Linked DNA regions of Homo sapiens: region 2 is linked to region 1. Evidence: promoter capture Hi-C in 16 types of primary human blood cells and fetal thymus (Javierre and others, 2016). All regions are on one chromosome and are shown on one strand. Each heading gives the region's core, a stretch centred on a gene start or on the middle of the fragment in contact. The rest is flanking DNA. Distances are from core to core; before and after follow the strand shown.

Region 1 (6,481 bases), core at 1,242-3,741:
TAGAGAGCTCGTGTACAGCTAGGGGCTGGGAAGGGGGTACCACCTTGGTCACCTTGGTGCTCAGCATCTCTTCTCTTTGCCCTACAGAGCCCCTTCTCCTGGGCCCCAGCCCAGCACCAGAGCCTCTCTGAGAGGTACCTTTGCCAGAGGACATGCCAAGTCCCTGGTCAGCCCCCATTCTTAACCCCCATTTTCACTCACCCCATCCCCACTGCCTTATGTCTACCTTCTGCCACAGATGAGGGACACCAGGGCTGGAGCTCAGTGCTGGGCAGAGCAGGGCGTGCTCCCTAGGCCTTGGTCCTCACCCACCCACCAAGGGGGCAGGGACTCCTAAGGAGGAGGTTTCAGGGTCTTCCTCCTTCAAGTCCTGGCCTGGATGCTACCTCAGGCTCCAGTAAGTTTCTGAGAGCTGATTCTGGGTTGGGGTCAGGGACGGGGCCCGGAGTGGAGCACCACGAATGTCCTCACAGGCTCAGCCCAGGCCCTCAGGGAGGGGGGCGAATTGTGGTTCTTTGATAAAATGCCGCCTTCGATTTACTGCCAAGTGCCAGGCTGGACTGGTCAAGTAGGCTCCATTAGCCCCATTTAACAGACGAGGAAACAGGAGCTGAATGGGAAAGCCTCAGCCGGATTTGCACCAAGAGCCCCTCACTCAGCTTCCTCTCCTGACCAGGGCTCCAGGAGACCTGACTCTGCCCTTGAGGGCCCAGGCAGGCACTGCGGTCACAACCTGATGACTGGTGAGGGCAAGGACAGGGTGTCCCTGGGAGAGGCCCCCCTTCTGCTGAGGAAGCAGCTTTTCCAGTCAAACAATAGCGCTATTCCTGGCAGATGACCAAGCTGGGCCAGGCCAGGCCATAGCGGGAGGGGGCAGGAGAGGGAGGAGCAGAGCCTCCCTGGGAGCTTTCAGCCTTCGCCTGGGCCTGGAACATCCTGTCCTGGTACAGCTGGGGATACTGAGGCCTAGGGAGGTGAAGGGTTTCAAGAGACTATCAGGGTAGGCCACTCCACTTCCTGCCTCCTTCCCCTCAGCCCCATGGTTTCCCACTCTGTCTGCACCTGCCATTGATGAGATGGGCTCAGCCTTTGAGAAGCTCCTCCTTCCCCTAGTCCTCCAGGGGATAGGCCAGGATGTGGTGGCTACATAGTGTTTCACAGGAATGTGTCAAGCCCGAGAGTCCAGGGAGGAGGCTTAGCTTGGCTTCCATCTGCCTATGGTGGGGGCTCCAGAGCAGGCAGAGGGCCTGCTTAGGCCTGCTGGGTCCCAATCAGGCCTGAGGCCTGCTTTAGTCTACTTGGTTCAAAGCCTCACATCTGAGGCCTCAGGGTGCTCAGGCCAGGCAAGGGTCCCCTGGAGCATTCTCAGCCCTGCATGGAGCCAACATGGACATGCTGATGCCTGCTTAGCCTTGGGGGGGTCTTAGACCTGTGAAGGCCTGATAAGATCTGGGGTGTCTGCCAGTGCCGGGGGCCTCCTTGAACCTGAAGCAAGTTTAGATGTGCACAGGCTAGCTAAGGGCTGCAGGCTTTGGGGCTCAAGTTTCAGGCTTGAGGTCTGAGTACTCACTGAACCTCAGCTGCAAGGGCCTCCCCCACCAAAGTCTGAGCACTGGGCATTACTGGCTCAAGCACTTCCGGGTTTTGTTGGTATCGAGGGACCTCAAGCCTTAGGCCTTGGCCACCTGCAGCCCCCTAACCCAAAGTATGTCGCTCAGGCAGAGGTGGCTAGGATTCTACCTCTGTGTGCCCCTGGTGAGGAGCCTTCTATTTTGAAAGTTGGATGAAAGGAACAAGTGGGGCTACCAGGCCAGGTTTCAATTTGTCAGCCCCCTCGCAAGCGGGGAAGGGTAGGTATCAATCGCAATCCTGTGTTGGCGGCCCTGCCCCCTGCAGCCATGAGAGGCAGGAGAGCGAAAGGCGCCCGGGGGACAGCGCTGCACAGCAGACCTGTGCCTCTCATTGCTCCGGGGATTTGGGGGCAGCGTTCTGGTCCTAGCCGAGCTCCAGTTTGTTTCGTGTCCCTTCTGTCTCAAGGACTTCAATCATGAAACCCACGTGTGTGCCAGAAGGACAGAAACGTCCCCTCCGGGATGCTCCCACCGGCTGCGCAGCTGGCTTTCCGCGGAAAGGGCGGAGCCCAGGGAGGGGGCGCGTCAGGGGCGGGGCCTGGAGGAGTCAGACGGGGTGGGGTCTATCCCCGAGCCAGTACTAAAAAAGGCGGAGCCGTTCGGGGCGGTCTCGGTGGGCTGGCTGGAAAGCGGGATGAGGTTCTGGCGTTAGGAGGAGGCGTGACCACCCAATAGGCTTCTCTTCCCGCGGGGCGTGGCCGTCAAGGAGCCGGACGCCGCGCCTGGCTGGGCGGGTCAGCCTCGCAGCGGGCGGCGTGGACGCGGCAGCGCAGCGGCTCCTTTAAGGCTCGGGCACCACCCCCGCCGCCCCGCCTCCCGTGCGGCCTGGGTCTAGTTGGCGGCGGGGTCGGGTCCGCGCGAGCCGCGATGGAGCTGCACATCCTAGAACACCGGGTGCGGGTGCTGAGCGTCGCCCGTCCCGGTCTCTGGCTCTACACCCACCCGCTCATCAAGCTGCTCTTCCTGCCCCGCCGCAGCCGGTGCGCGCCCGGGTTCGGGAGCGCAGATAGGGGCTGGGGGCTCTGCTCTCGCTCCGGGCCAGGGTCGGAGGATTAGGATCGCCGTAAGGCAGGCAGGCAGGCGGGCGGGAGCGGGTGGGGAGGACTCTCCCCGTCCGGCCGCCATCCGGCCTGGGGGACCGCCGCCTATCCGGCCCCGTGAGGCCCCCTCCCAGGGGCAAAGCGCAAACAGCCTGGGATGGGCAATGCTTAACTCAGTAGTGTCAAATGGGGGCATTCCTACCTGGTCACTGCGGGGAGCTCCTTCCAGGACGCCTCCCTTCATGTCAGAGGGGCTGGACTAGGGGGTCCAAGGTCCGACGCCCCTGGGGCTGTCGCCGCGGGTGTGAACCTCTCCTCCCTCCAGGAGTGGAGGGGTGGAGGGTTCCTGGAGAGGTCGGGAGGCCGGAAAGTAGCCCCCAACCCCCGAGATGGGGCTAACATCCCATTGGCCTGGAAATTAAAGGCCGAGAGGGCAAGAAGGCGCCCGGCCCAGGGTCGCGGGGGTGTCTCGGGGCAGATGGAGAGAAATCCACTCCCGACCCCTAGTTCTCCACACCAAGCTGAAGATGCTCCCCACCCCCAACCAGGTGCAAGTTCTTCAGCCTGACGGAGACCCCTGAGGATTACACGCTTATGGTGGACGAGGAGGGCTTTAAAGGTGGGGGTTGGTCTGGGGAACGGGAGTACGGGAGGGGCTTGTCGTGCTCCCCTTCTGTAGGGTTCTCACCAGTTGCTGGGATCCGTCCCAAGAGCTTAAGCCTTAAAAGCAGATGGGTCGGGGTTCGAATCCTACTCCACCACTCCCTGGCTGTGTGCCCTTGAGCAAATCACTTTCCCTCTCTGAGCTGTTTTCTCTTATGTAAAATGGGTATAGTTATGGTTCTGATACATAGGGTCCCATGAGGCCTTTATAAACTTAAAACCGCTGAGGGGCACTCAGCAGTCTTAGGCCTGCAGAAGGGCCTCTGTTATGATTCCAGTCAAGTGCTGCTGTTAGAAATCCCTGGGTATTATTTCCTCCTGGTCTTACTCTCTGGTTTGGGTCACCTCCTCCCCTGCTGGTCTGGAAACTCCAGGAGTCTGAGGGAAGGAATGCAGGAGCAGGCAGCCATCTCAGGGGAGGGTCCTGGAGGCCTCCTGGCTGTGCTGGGGTGAATAGCAGCCACCCAGGCCCTGGCCCCAGCTCAGGACTGGACGCCAGCCTGGGCCCTCCCTGGGGCCTGGAGCTGACGCCTAGCTCCTCCTCCTGCTGCTGGCCCTGCCCATCCTCACAGGCTTGGAGTCTCAGGCCAGCTAGCTGGAGCTTAGCCTGTCCCCATGCTCCACTGCAGGCCTTAGTTTCCCTGTTTTTACTTCAGAAGTCTGGGTCTGCAAAAGGGGAAGGCAATCCCCCAGCCAACCTGATCTGCGAATGCCCCCTGGTGGTGCCATGTGGTACAAAGCTTCTGCTAACCCACAGAAGACACCGTAGTGAGGTAGATATTGTCGTCCCATTTTACAGATGAGGAAACTGAGACTCAAATCACCCACCCCAGGTCATAAGACAAATTAACAAAGCTGGGATTTGAACCCAGGTCTGTCTGAATCTGGACCTCTGATCTTAAGTGGGAAGTTTCAATGCCACCAGGCCAGCACTTGAAGCCTTTCTCAGTCTTTGCACACATAGGGACTTCAGGAGCCCCAGCCTCCAGACCTGCCCTTACCTTGATGGAGCCCTCCAAGGCACAGAAAGGGAAACTGAGGCTCAGAGAGGGGCAGGGGCCAGCCTTGTAGACCCTGACCTGACATGTCCCCTGCCCACAGAGCTGCCCCCATCTGAGTTCCTGCAAGTAGCTGAGGCCACATGGCTGGTGCTGAACGTGTCGTCTCACAGCGGTGCGGCAGTGCAGGCTGCTGGGGTCACCAAGATCGCCCGTTCGGTCATCGCGCCACTGGCCGAGCACCACGTGTCTGTGCTGATGCTGTCCACTTACCAGACGGACTTCATCCTGGTGAGTTTCCTGCTGGTGCTGATGCAGAGCAGGGTGGATATAGGTACCTGGGAGCCCATGTGATGTGCCATCTGCTGTGGCCCAGGTGCGGGAGCAGGACCTGTCCGTGGTGATCCACACGCTGGCCCAGGAGTTCGACATTTACCGCGAGGTGGGCGGAGAGCCTGTGCCTGTGACGAGGGATGATTCCAGCAATGGCTTTCCCCGCACTCAGCATGGTGAGGGCCGCCCCCTGACACTTGGACTTGGGCAGGGCCTCCTCTTCCCACTGGGTCCCTTCCCTTTTGGGCCCCAGTGGGGCAGGAGGACCCCGGCCAGTTCCTGGATAGCAAGACCTGCCCCTGGCCCACGCCTCTCCCTGACTAGCCACCAGGGGGCGCCCCAGCCCACGGACACCTTTTCACCTGCTGCTGTCCTCCAGCAGGGCCCAGCCCCACGGTGCATCCCATCCAGAGCCCACAGAACCGCTTCTGTGTCCTCACACTGGACCCTGAGACGCTTCCAGCCATCGCCACCACCCTCATAGATGTCCTCTTCTACTCGCACAGGTGGACCTTGGAACTTCGTCTTTGTCCTCACAGCACTGTTCCCTACACTCTGTCCCACCACTTTCCGCCCATCTATCAGTTTTGCACCTCTTGCTTGTCCTCTCTTGGGGTTCCTGGCAGCCCATGATGCTCACTTGTGCTTCACTGATGTTCGGGGAAGGTTCTTGCCCCAAAGCTGGATCCCTTTCCAGTGGGGTCGTCTGAGCCATGCCCTGGTCTGGCCCTCTCACCGTGGAATCCTTTGTTTTTGGCACAGGCTGGGTTCATTGTCCTCCCCCATCCCCACCCACACCTTCCAGAGGGCTGGACCCTTGGGCGGGTAGCAGATATGGCAGAGCCTGCCCAGGCCACCATACCAGCTCCTTCCCAGGGTTCTGGAGGCTGATCGGGAGCAGGGGCAGTAGGCTGGGTGCCTGGTAGAGCCCCTAAACCTCCCATCCCTCCCCAGCACCCCCAAGGAGGCAGCCTCTAGCAGTCCTGAACCCAGCTCCATCACGTTCTTTGCCTTCTCCCTCATCGAGGGTTATATCTCCATTGTCATGGATGCTGAAACACAGAAAAAGTAGGTGACCCCTGACCCCGGGTGGGCCCCAGGCCCCAGCCAGTCCCAGGCAGGGAGGAGGTGGGGCATCAGACTCTGAGGTCAGCAGGTGTACCTGTCCCAGAGCTCACGGTCAGGCAGGGGTGGATGGGGGTGCCCTGCCCATCACCCATCTCCCTCCCCAGGTTCCCCAGTGACCTCCTGCTGACCAGCTCCTCGGGGGAGCTGTGGAGGATGGTGCGCATCGGTGGACAGCCCCTGGGCTTTGGTGAGGGCTGTTCCCGGTGTTGGGGGGCTGGGGAGTGTCTGGGGAGCAACCGGCATGTGCCACATGTGGCCTTCCTCCACCACCCTCAGATGAATGTGGCATCGTGGCACAGATTGCAGGTCCCCTGGCTGCCGCTGACATCTCTGCCTACTACATCAGCACCTTCAACTTCGACCACGCCCTGGTGAGCACCAAGGGCTGGGGCAGAGGGGAGAGTGAGGCCCAGAAATGTGGGCGGCAGGAGGTAGTCTCAGCTGGGCCAGGAAGTCAGGGGTGGCCCTGGCCAGCTTCCGCCTTGACCCTTCCCTCCTGCCCACCTGCCCTCAGGTGCCCGAGGACGGTATCGGCAGCGTCATCGAGGTCCTCCAGCGGCGGCAGGAAGGCCTGGCTTCCTGAGGCCCATGGGCAACAGAGCAGCCTCCCTGCTCTCCCCTCGACCCAGGCTTCCAAAGACTTCTCTAAGCTATTTCCTTAAGCTCTGGAACGAGCCCCCTGTTCTGC
Region 2 (6,457 bases), core at 2,124-4,623, 43 kb before region 1:
GTATTTTCACTAAAGTTCTTCAGTTTAGCTCCAGACTCACCAAGAGACAAGATAGAGATTGTTTTAAAGAAAAGAAACCTAATCTTGCAAAGGGGGGTGACTTGTACAACCTCACAAGGGGTTATCAGTGGTGAATCAGGCCAGAATCCAGGAGCCCAGATGCACAGGTGACATTGTCTGGACAGGCCTAGGGATAGCAGAGCATAGTTCTTGATTGGCTCCGAGCTCCCTAGGCATAATGACCACCTCCTGTTTTGTAGGGTCCAGTGTCCATCAAAGTCCAGGTGCCCAACATGCAGGATAAGACGGAATGGAAACTGAATGGGCAGGTGCTGGTCTTCACCCTCCCACTCACGGACCAGGTATGGGTACTGCCAGAAACTGGCATCAGGTGCATGGGAACCAAGCATTCAGGGGAAAGCTTCCTCTAGCTGGCCTTACCAAGGAGTTGAATGACCGCTGCTTGATCCCACAGGTCTCTGTCATTAAGGTGAAGATTCATGAAGCCACAGGCATGCCTGCAGGGAAACAGAAGCTACAGTATGAGGTGAGTCAGTTTGTCCACAGACCTGTCCCTTGGGTCCTGACACCTCTGCTTTCACAGAAGCTAAATCTGTCATGGAAGCTAAAAGGGGAGTGGAGTGATATCTGGGTGTGGCCATCTGAATCCATCCTAGAAGTCATGATGCTGGCTGGGAGTGTTGGGGCAGGTGTGCCCAACAATGCAAGGCTCTGGTGGGGTCACAGTAGAGTCTTGTGTGGGATCTGTAAGATTCTTTGCCTCAATGACTGGGCATAGAGATTTAGTGACAAGACTTAGGCATGCTCTGGTGGGTTCCTGATCCAGTGGTTGGGCCATCCCTGCCAGTATGACCTCAGGCAGCCTGACTTGGAGGTGATAGTCTAGCCCCGCCTGATGCCAGGTCACATGGAGGCATTAATGTTCTTCTTCTCTGAACTTGAACAAATCCCTGCTCTGGGCCTCAGTTATCTCTATCCATTGAGGCTGTTGGGCTAAGTGATCCCTAAAGGTCTTGTGATTTCAGAGTCAGAGCTCCATGGAGTTGGTGAGGGGCCAACTTTTTGGGGAGTTGAGCTTTTGAGTCAAATGTTGACAAAGGGGAGGAGCGTAATTGGTGGGAAGAAAGGAAACAGTGGGAGGAATGAGAGGCCTCCAGTCCCCAACACCCTACCTTCTCACAAGCTCCTGTATTTGCTAAGTCCAGAGCGCAAACAGACCAAGTGCACAGTTGTAAGGTTGCAGCGGTATCCCCAAGGCTGGGTTGCCCCATGCTAAGGCACGCTGTCTGTTTTCCAGGGTATCTTCATCAAAGATTCCAACTCACTGGCTTACTACAACATGGCCAATGGCGCAGTCATCCACCTGGCCCTCAAGGAGAGAGGCGGGAGGAAGAAGTAGACAAGAGGAACCTGCTGTCAAGTCCCTGCCATTTTGCCTCTCCTGTCTCCCACCCCCTGCCCCAGACCCAGGAGCCCCCCTGAGGCTTTGCCTTGCCTGCATATTTGTTTCGCTCTTACTCAGTTTGGGAATTCAAATTGTCCTGCAGAGGTTCATTCCCCTGACCCTTTCCCCACATTGGTAAGAGTAGCTGGGTTTTCTAAGCCACTCTCTGGAATCTCTTTGTGTTAGGGTCTCGATTTGAGGACATTCATTTCTTCAGCAGCCCATTAGCAACTGAGAGCCCAGGGATGTCCTACAGGATAGTTTCATAGTGACAGGTGGCACTTGGCTAATAGAATATGGCTGATATTGTCATTAATCATTTTGTACCTTGACATGGGTTGTCTAATAAAACTCGGACCCTTCTTGTGAAATCAGTTAAATAAGACTTGTCTCGGTCACCTGTGCCCTGTCCAGACTCGAGGCAGTGGTAACACTGCACAGTGCTATGTGGCTTCTCTTTGAGGATTTTTGGGTTTTGTAACTAAATTCTTGCTGCCCTCATACTTTTTATGTATTAGAATCATATTCGTATTGCCCTTTTAAAACATTGGGATCCTCCAAAGGCCTGCCCCATGTATTTAACAGTAATACAGGAAGCATGGCAGGCACCATGCAAACCAAGGATGGATGGTGCAGTCCCTGTGTCAGTGGGCGGTGGTTTCCTGCTGGCCTGGAATCACTCATCACCTGATTGATTGGCTCTGTGGTCCTGGGCAGGTGCCTCATAGGTGTGTGGATATGATGACGTTTCTTTAAAATGTATGTATTTAACAAATACTTAATTGTATTAAGGTCATGTACCAAGGATTTGATAAAGTTTAAATAATTTACTCTCTACTTTTATCCATTTTATCCATTTTAACTCATGTAATCCTCATGTGAGTATTCCTGTTTAACACTTGAGTAAACTGAGGCACAGAGAACATAAGTTGCATGCCATAGTCACACACTGTGAAAGTGAAAAGAGAATGTGTGCAAAACACGTCACAGTCCTGGTTTCTGAGTAAAGGCAGGCTGTTATCTTTAGAATCAAGCTATCACAGGGAGATAGGCAATGCTGTGGGTGTTGGAGGAAGGTGAGAGCCTGTTGCTAACAATTTCCTGGTTTTAAAGCTAAGGCTGATTTTATTGGGAAGATCTCACATGTGTGTGGCCCCTGAGAGTTCCCAGTGCCTTTTATTTGCAGTCCTTCCATTTGGACCTCCTAGCTGCCCCATCAGGTCATCTCCAGGGCTCAGAGGGGTGAGACCATTTCCCAAGGTCACAGAACCAGCTCTCTAGTCACCACCCTGCCTCTCCCTCTCACCCAGAGTCAGTACCAGTTTTATGGCTTTATTACAAACTGCTGGGTCCCTCCCATTTTCAACTTGATTGATGGGATGTCATCCCTTATCCTGTCTGACATTTGCCTCTGGCCTGGTTGCTAGAAGTTTGCCCCAGGGGCAAGAGTTGAAATTTGGCTTCCTGAGGTGGGCTTTGTGGTTTGCGTCCCTAAAGTGAGCCCACTACTGGTTGCTTGTCCATGGCCAACACCAGAAATCCCCTGAGCACTACCTGGGTCTCATTCCAAGAAGGAAGAGGGTCAGGAGACCTGGGGAGTCTCATATTCCAAGTTCTTCTTTCTTTCTGGGAGCAGTGGGCAGTTCATGGTGTTAGGGCACTCACCCCCACAGACTGGCAAACCCTGCAGGACTTCCGTGGCTGAGGCTGTGACCGGAGGCCAGGAATGCCGTTGGGTGGATTGTGAGTGAATGGGCCCTTTGAGCTGCCCTCTAGAGAGCAAATCCAGTTTCCTGGAGCTCCTGAATGAATATCTGTACTGGCTCGCTCAGATGCAGAAGCTCCATTGACCATGAGGCCTTGTGAACATCAGTGGCCACAGGCCCAGTGTGCTGCTTGGCACTGCACTAGTTTAGGACCTGCAGCATGTAGGTAGCGTCCTAGTGTTTATAATACAAAGCTGCTCTGCACAGCTTTTCTGATTCTTCTTGCAATCTCCTGAGGATTATCTGCCCCATTTTTAAAACGAGGTGGAATACCCAAGGTCATGTAGCCAGTGAGTGCTCTGGAAAGCCAAAGCAGCTCATCCCTTCCTGGGGACCACACTGCTCTGCTCCACCAGACCACACTATGAAATAGGAATAAGTGCTCCTGTTGCAGGACTGCTGGGAAAACAGGTGGTGTGGGACTTAAGTCACCATAATTTTGAAGACTTGCATGCAGAGGGCTCCAGGAATTGTAGACATTAAGGAATTTCACTTTCAGTTCTACCCACTACTTAAGTACTTGTCATGTACTCTTAGAGGAGGCCAGTAATGATCAGAACCATTTTACTTTAAAATTAATAATATTGTATTAGAGAATATATTAAATGGTTATATTGGGTTATGTTAGGATATATACTTGAATGGAAATACATGTACTATTAGCAATCATATTTCATTTATCCCTGTAATTAGACAAGAAAGCATAATATAGCTCTACTCATGGGTACACATACCAGTGTATAAGATTTTTAGAAGTTTACTTTTTAAAAATAAAAGCAAAATGTAAGATCTTAAGAGTTATGATCATTAACTCTACCAGATATGGAGATTTGCTGTTAACTATTCTGTATTGTTACATTTTTTTAATTCTGCATTGTTGCCAGGTGTAGTGGCTCACACCTGTAATCCCAGCACTTTGGGAGGCCGAGGCGGGCGGATCACCTGAGGTCGCGAGTTCAAGACCAGCCTGACCAACATGGAGAAACCCTGTCTCTACTAAAAATACAAAATTAGCCGGGCATGGTGGCACATGCCTGTAATCCCAGCTACTTGGGAGGCTGAGGCAGGAGGATCGCTTGAACCCAGGAGGTGGAGGTTGTGGTGAGCTGAGATAGCACCATTGCACTCCAGCCTGGGCAACAAGATTGAAACTCTGTCTAAAAAAAAAAAAAAAGGCTGCATTGTTATATAAAAGAACACTGCCTGGTGAGTTCCCTGACACCATGCCCTGACACTGCTCCCAGCATGTAAGTGAACAATTCTAGGTACCCCTGGACACTACAGTCCATGAAGCAGGACAAGATAAACTCCTGCCAGGCACAGTGACACACCTGTAGTTCCAGCTGCTTGGGAGGTTGAGGTAAGAGGATTGCTTGAGCCAGGAAGTTCAAAGTCAGCTTAGACAACATAGTGAGAACTCATCTCTAAAAAAGTTTTTTTAAATTAAAATTAAAATAGATCATTACAGAGAATACTGTTATAACAGGTGGCAGGTGCCTGTAATCCCAGCTACTTGGGAGGCTGAGGCAGGAGAATCTCTTGAACCCGGGAGGTGGAGGTTGCAGTGAGCCAGGATCACACCACTGCACTCCAGCCTGGGCAACAGAGCAAGACTCCGTCTCAAAAAAAAAAAAAAAAAAAAAAAGGGCATCTGGACTTTTGCTCATGGCCAGTGCTCACAGGTTTCCTGAGCACATGCCAACTGCACATTCCAGGATCCAGGAGAGGGGCCTATGTGAGATCCTCAAGCCCAGCTGTTGGGAATGACCCCAGCAGGATGAGACTCTGGGATATCAACACATTCTATCTTCAAAAGAATGTCTCCAACAGCCAGTTCACCAGGATGTTCCACAGCATTGCCTAAGGCCTCTTAAATTCTTTATTCCAGTGAACCACGTGATTCTGCAGGGCTCCTTTCTGATCATTTATTCATTGGTTCACTGTTGCCCTTGCTTTCTCACTCCAATCTAACAACACAGCCTCCTTCTCCTTCAAGGGGAAAATCATCTGCTGCCATGCTTGTACACTATTCTCAGTCCTGCAGAAGGGGTCCCTCATTTTCAGCCCATACCACCTCCCCAACACCTACTCCAGCATTCTCCATACCTTACCTGGCTTTATTTTCTTATTCTCACTACCTGATAGATGTTCTGTGCTTGTTCATGTTGTCCCTCCTCCACTGGACTATAAACTCTATTGGGCCAGGACTTCATCTCTCTTATTCACTAGAGCAAGCTCGTCCAACCCATGGCCCAGGAGAGCTTTGAATGTGGCCCAACACAAATTTGTAAACTTTCTCTTTTTTTTTTTTAGACAGAGTCTTGCTCTTTCGCCCAGGCTGGAGTGCAGTGGCGCCATCTCGGCTCACTGCAAGCTCCACCTCCCGGGTTCACGCCATTCTCCTGCCTCAGCCTCCCGAGTAGCTGGGACTACAGGCTCCTGCCACCACGCCCGGCTAATTTTTTGTATTTTTAGTAGAGACGGGGTTTCACCGTGTTAGCCAGGATGGTCTCGATCTCCTGACCTCATGATCCGCCCTCCTCGGCCTCCCAAAGTGCTGGGATTATAGGCATGAGCCGCGCCCGGCCCCAAATTTGTAAACTTCCTTAAAACATTATGAGATTTTTTTTTGCAATGTTTTTTAACTCATCAGCTATATCGTTAGTGTATTTTATGTATGGCCTAAGACAATTCTTCTTCCGGTGTGGCCCAGGGAAGCCGAAAGGTTGGACACCCCTGCACTAATGTCTGGCTCATTATAGGTGTATTAAATAAAGAACTCTGGAGTTTGGCCAGGCATGGAGGCTCACGCCTGTAATCCCAACAATTTGGGAGGCCAAGGCGGGAAGATCACTTGAGCCCAGGAGTTCAAGACCATCCTAGGCCACATAGTAAGACCTAATCTCTACAAAAAAATACAAAAGTTAGCAATTTCACACAAGGACACCCAGTTGTTGAGGGGCACAGCCACGAAGTGAAGTCTCCCAAGCCACGTGCCATAGGTTAAATTGGGCAAACTCCCCCGCTGCAGCCACAGGCTGTGATGGGGAACACTCAAGACAATAATGAATTTGCAATTCCTTTTGCAAGCTTCAAATGCCACCACTCCTGGCCATTATTTATTTATTTATTTATTTATTTATTTTGAGATGGAGTCTTGTCTGTCACCCAGGCTGGAGTGGTGTGATCTCTGCTCACTGCAACCTCTGCCTCCCAGGTTCCAGCG

Evidence for each region. Contacts are between HindIII fragments. The CHiCAGO score rates a contact against its expected background, and 5 or more counts as called.
Region 2: a contact is called between a fragment that was not itself captured here and the fragment with the promoter of CASTOR1 in region 1, in 5 of 17 cell types (naive CD4 T cells, total CD8 T cells, naive CD8 T cells and 2 more). The highest score is 7.3, in naive CD4 T cells.

Annotation. Positions count from the first base shown.
Region 1 is chr22:30,285,515-30,291,995 of GRCh38, reverse strand. CASTOR1 (cytosolic arginine sensor for mTORC1 subunit 1) reads left to right here and starts at 2,491. Exons shown (of 9, transcript NM_001037666.3): 1 at 2,491-2,611; 2 at 3,220-3,290; 3 at 4,436-4,623; 4 at 4,709-4,841; 5 at 5,048-5,171; 6 at 5,620-5,733; 7 at 5,898-5,980; 8 at 6,070-6,164; 9 at 6,308-6,481. The coding sequence starts at 2,499. The coding sequence ends at 6,376. TBC1D10A (TBC1 domain family member 10A) reads left to right here. Exons shown (of 9, transcript NM_031937.3): 9 at 1-6. RefSeq lists an enhancer at 1,174-1,233 and silencers at 2,114-2,553, 2,754-2,833. The HindIII fragment of the contact is 5,917 bases long and covers 1-4,076 here.
Region 2 is chr22:30,329,557-30,336,013 of GRCh38, reverse strand. SF3A1 (splicing factor 3a subunit 1) reads left to right here. Exons shown (of 16, transcript NM_005877.6): 14 at 261-362; 15 at 476-547; 16 at 1,319-4,026. The coding sequence ends at 1,420. Among named protein-coding and RNA genes, the nearest start is that of TBC1D10A, 5.8 kb to the right of the region's middle. The HindIII fragment of the contact is 5,900 bases long and covers 424-6,323 here.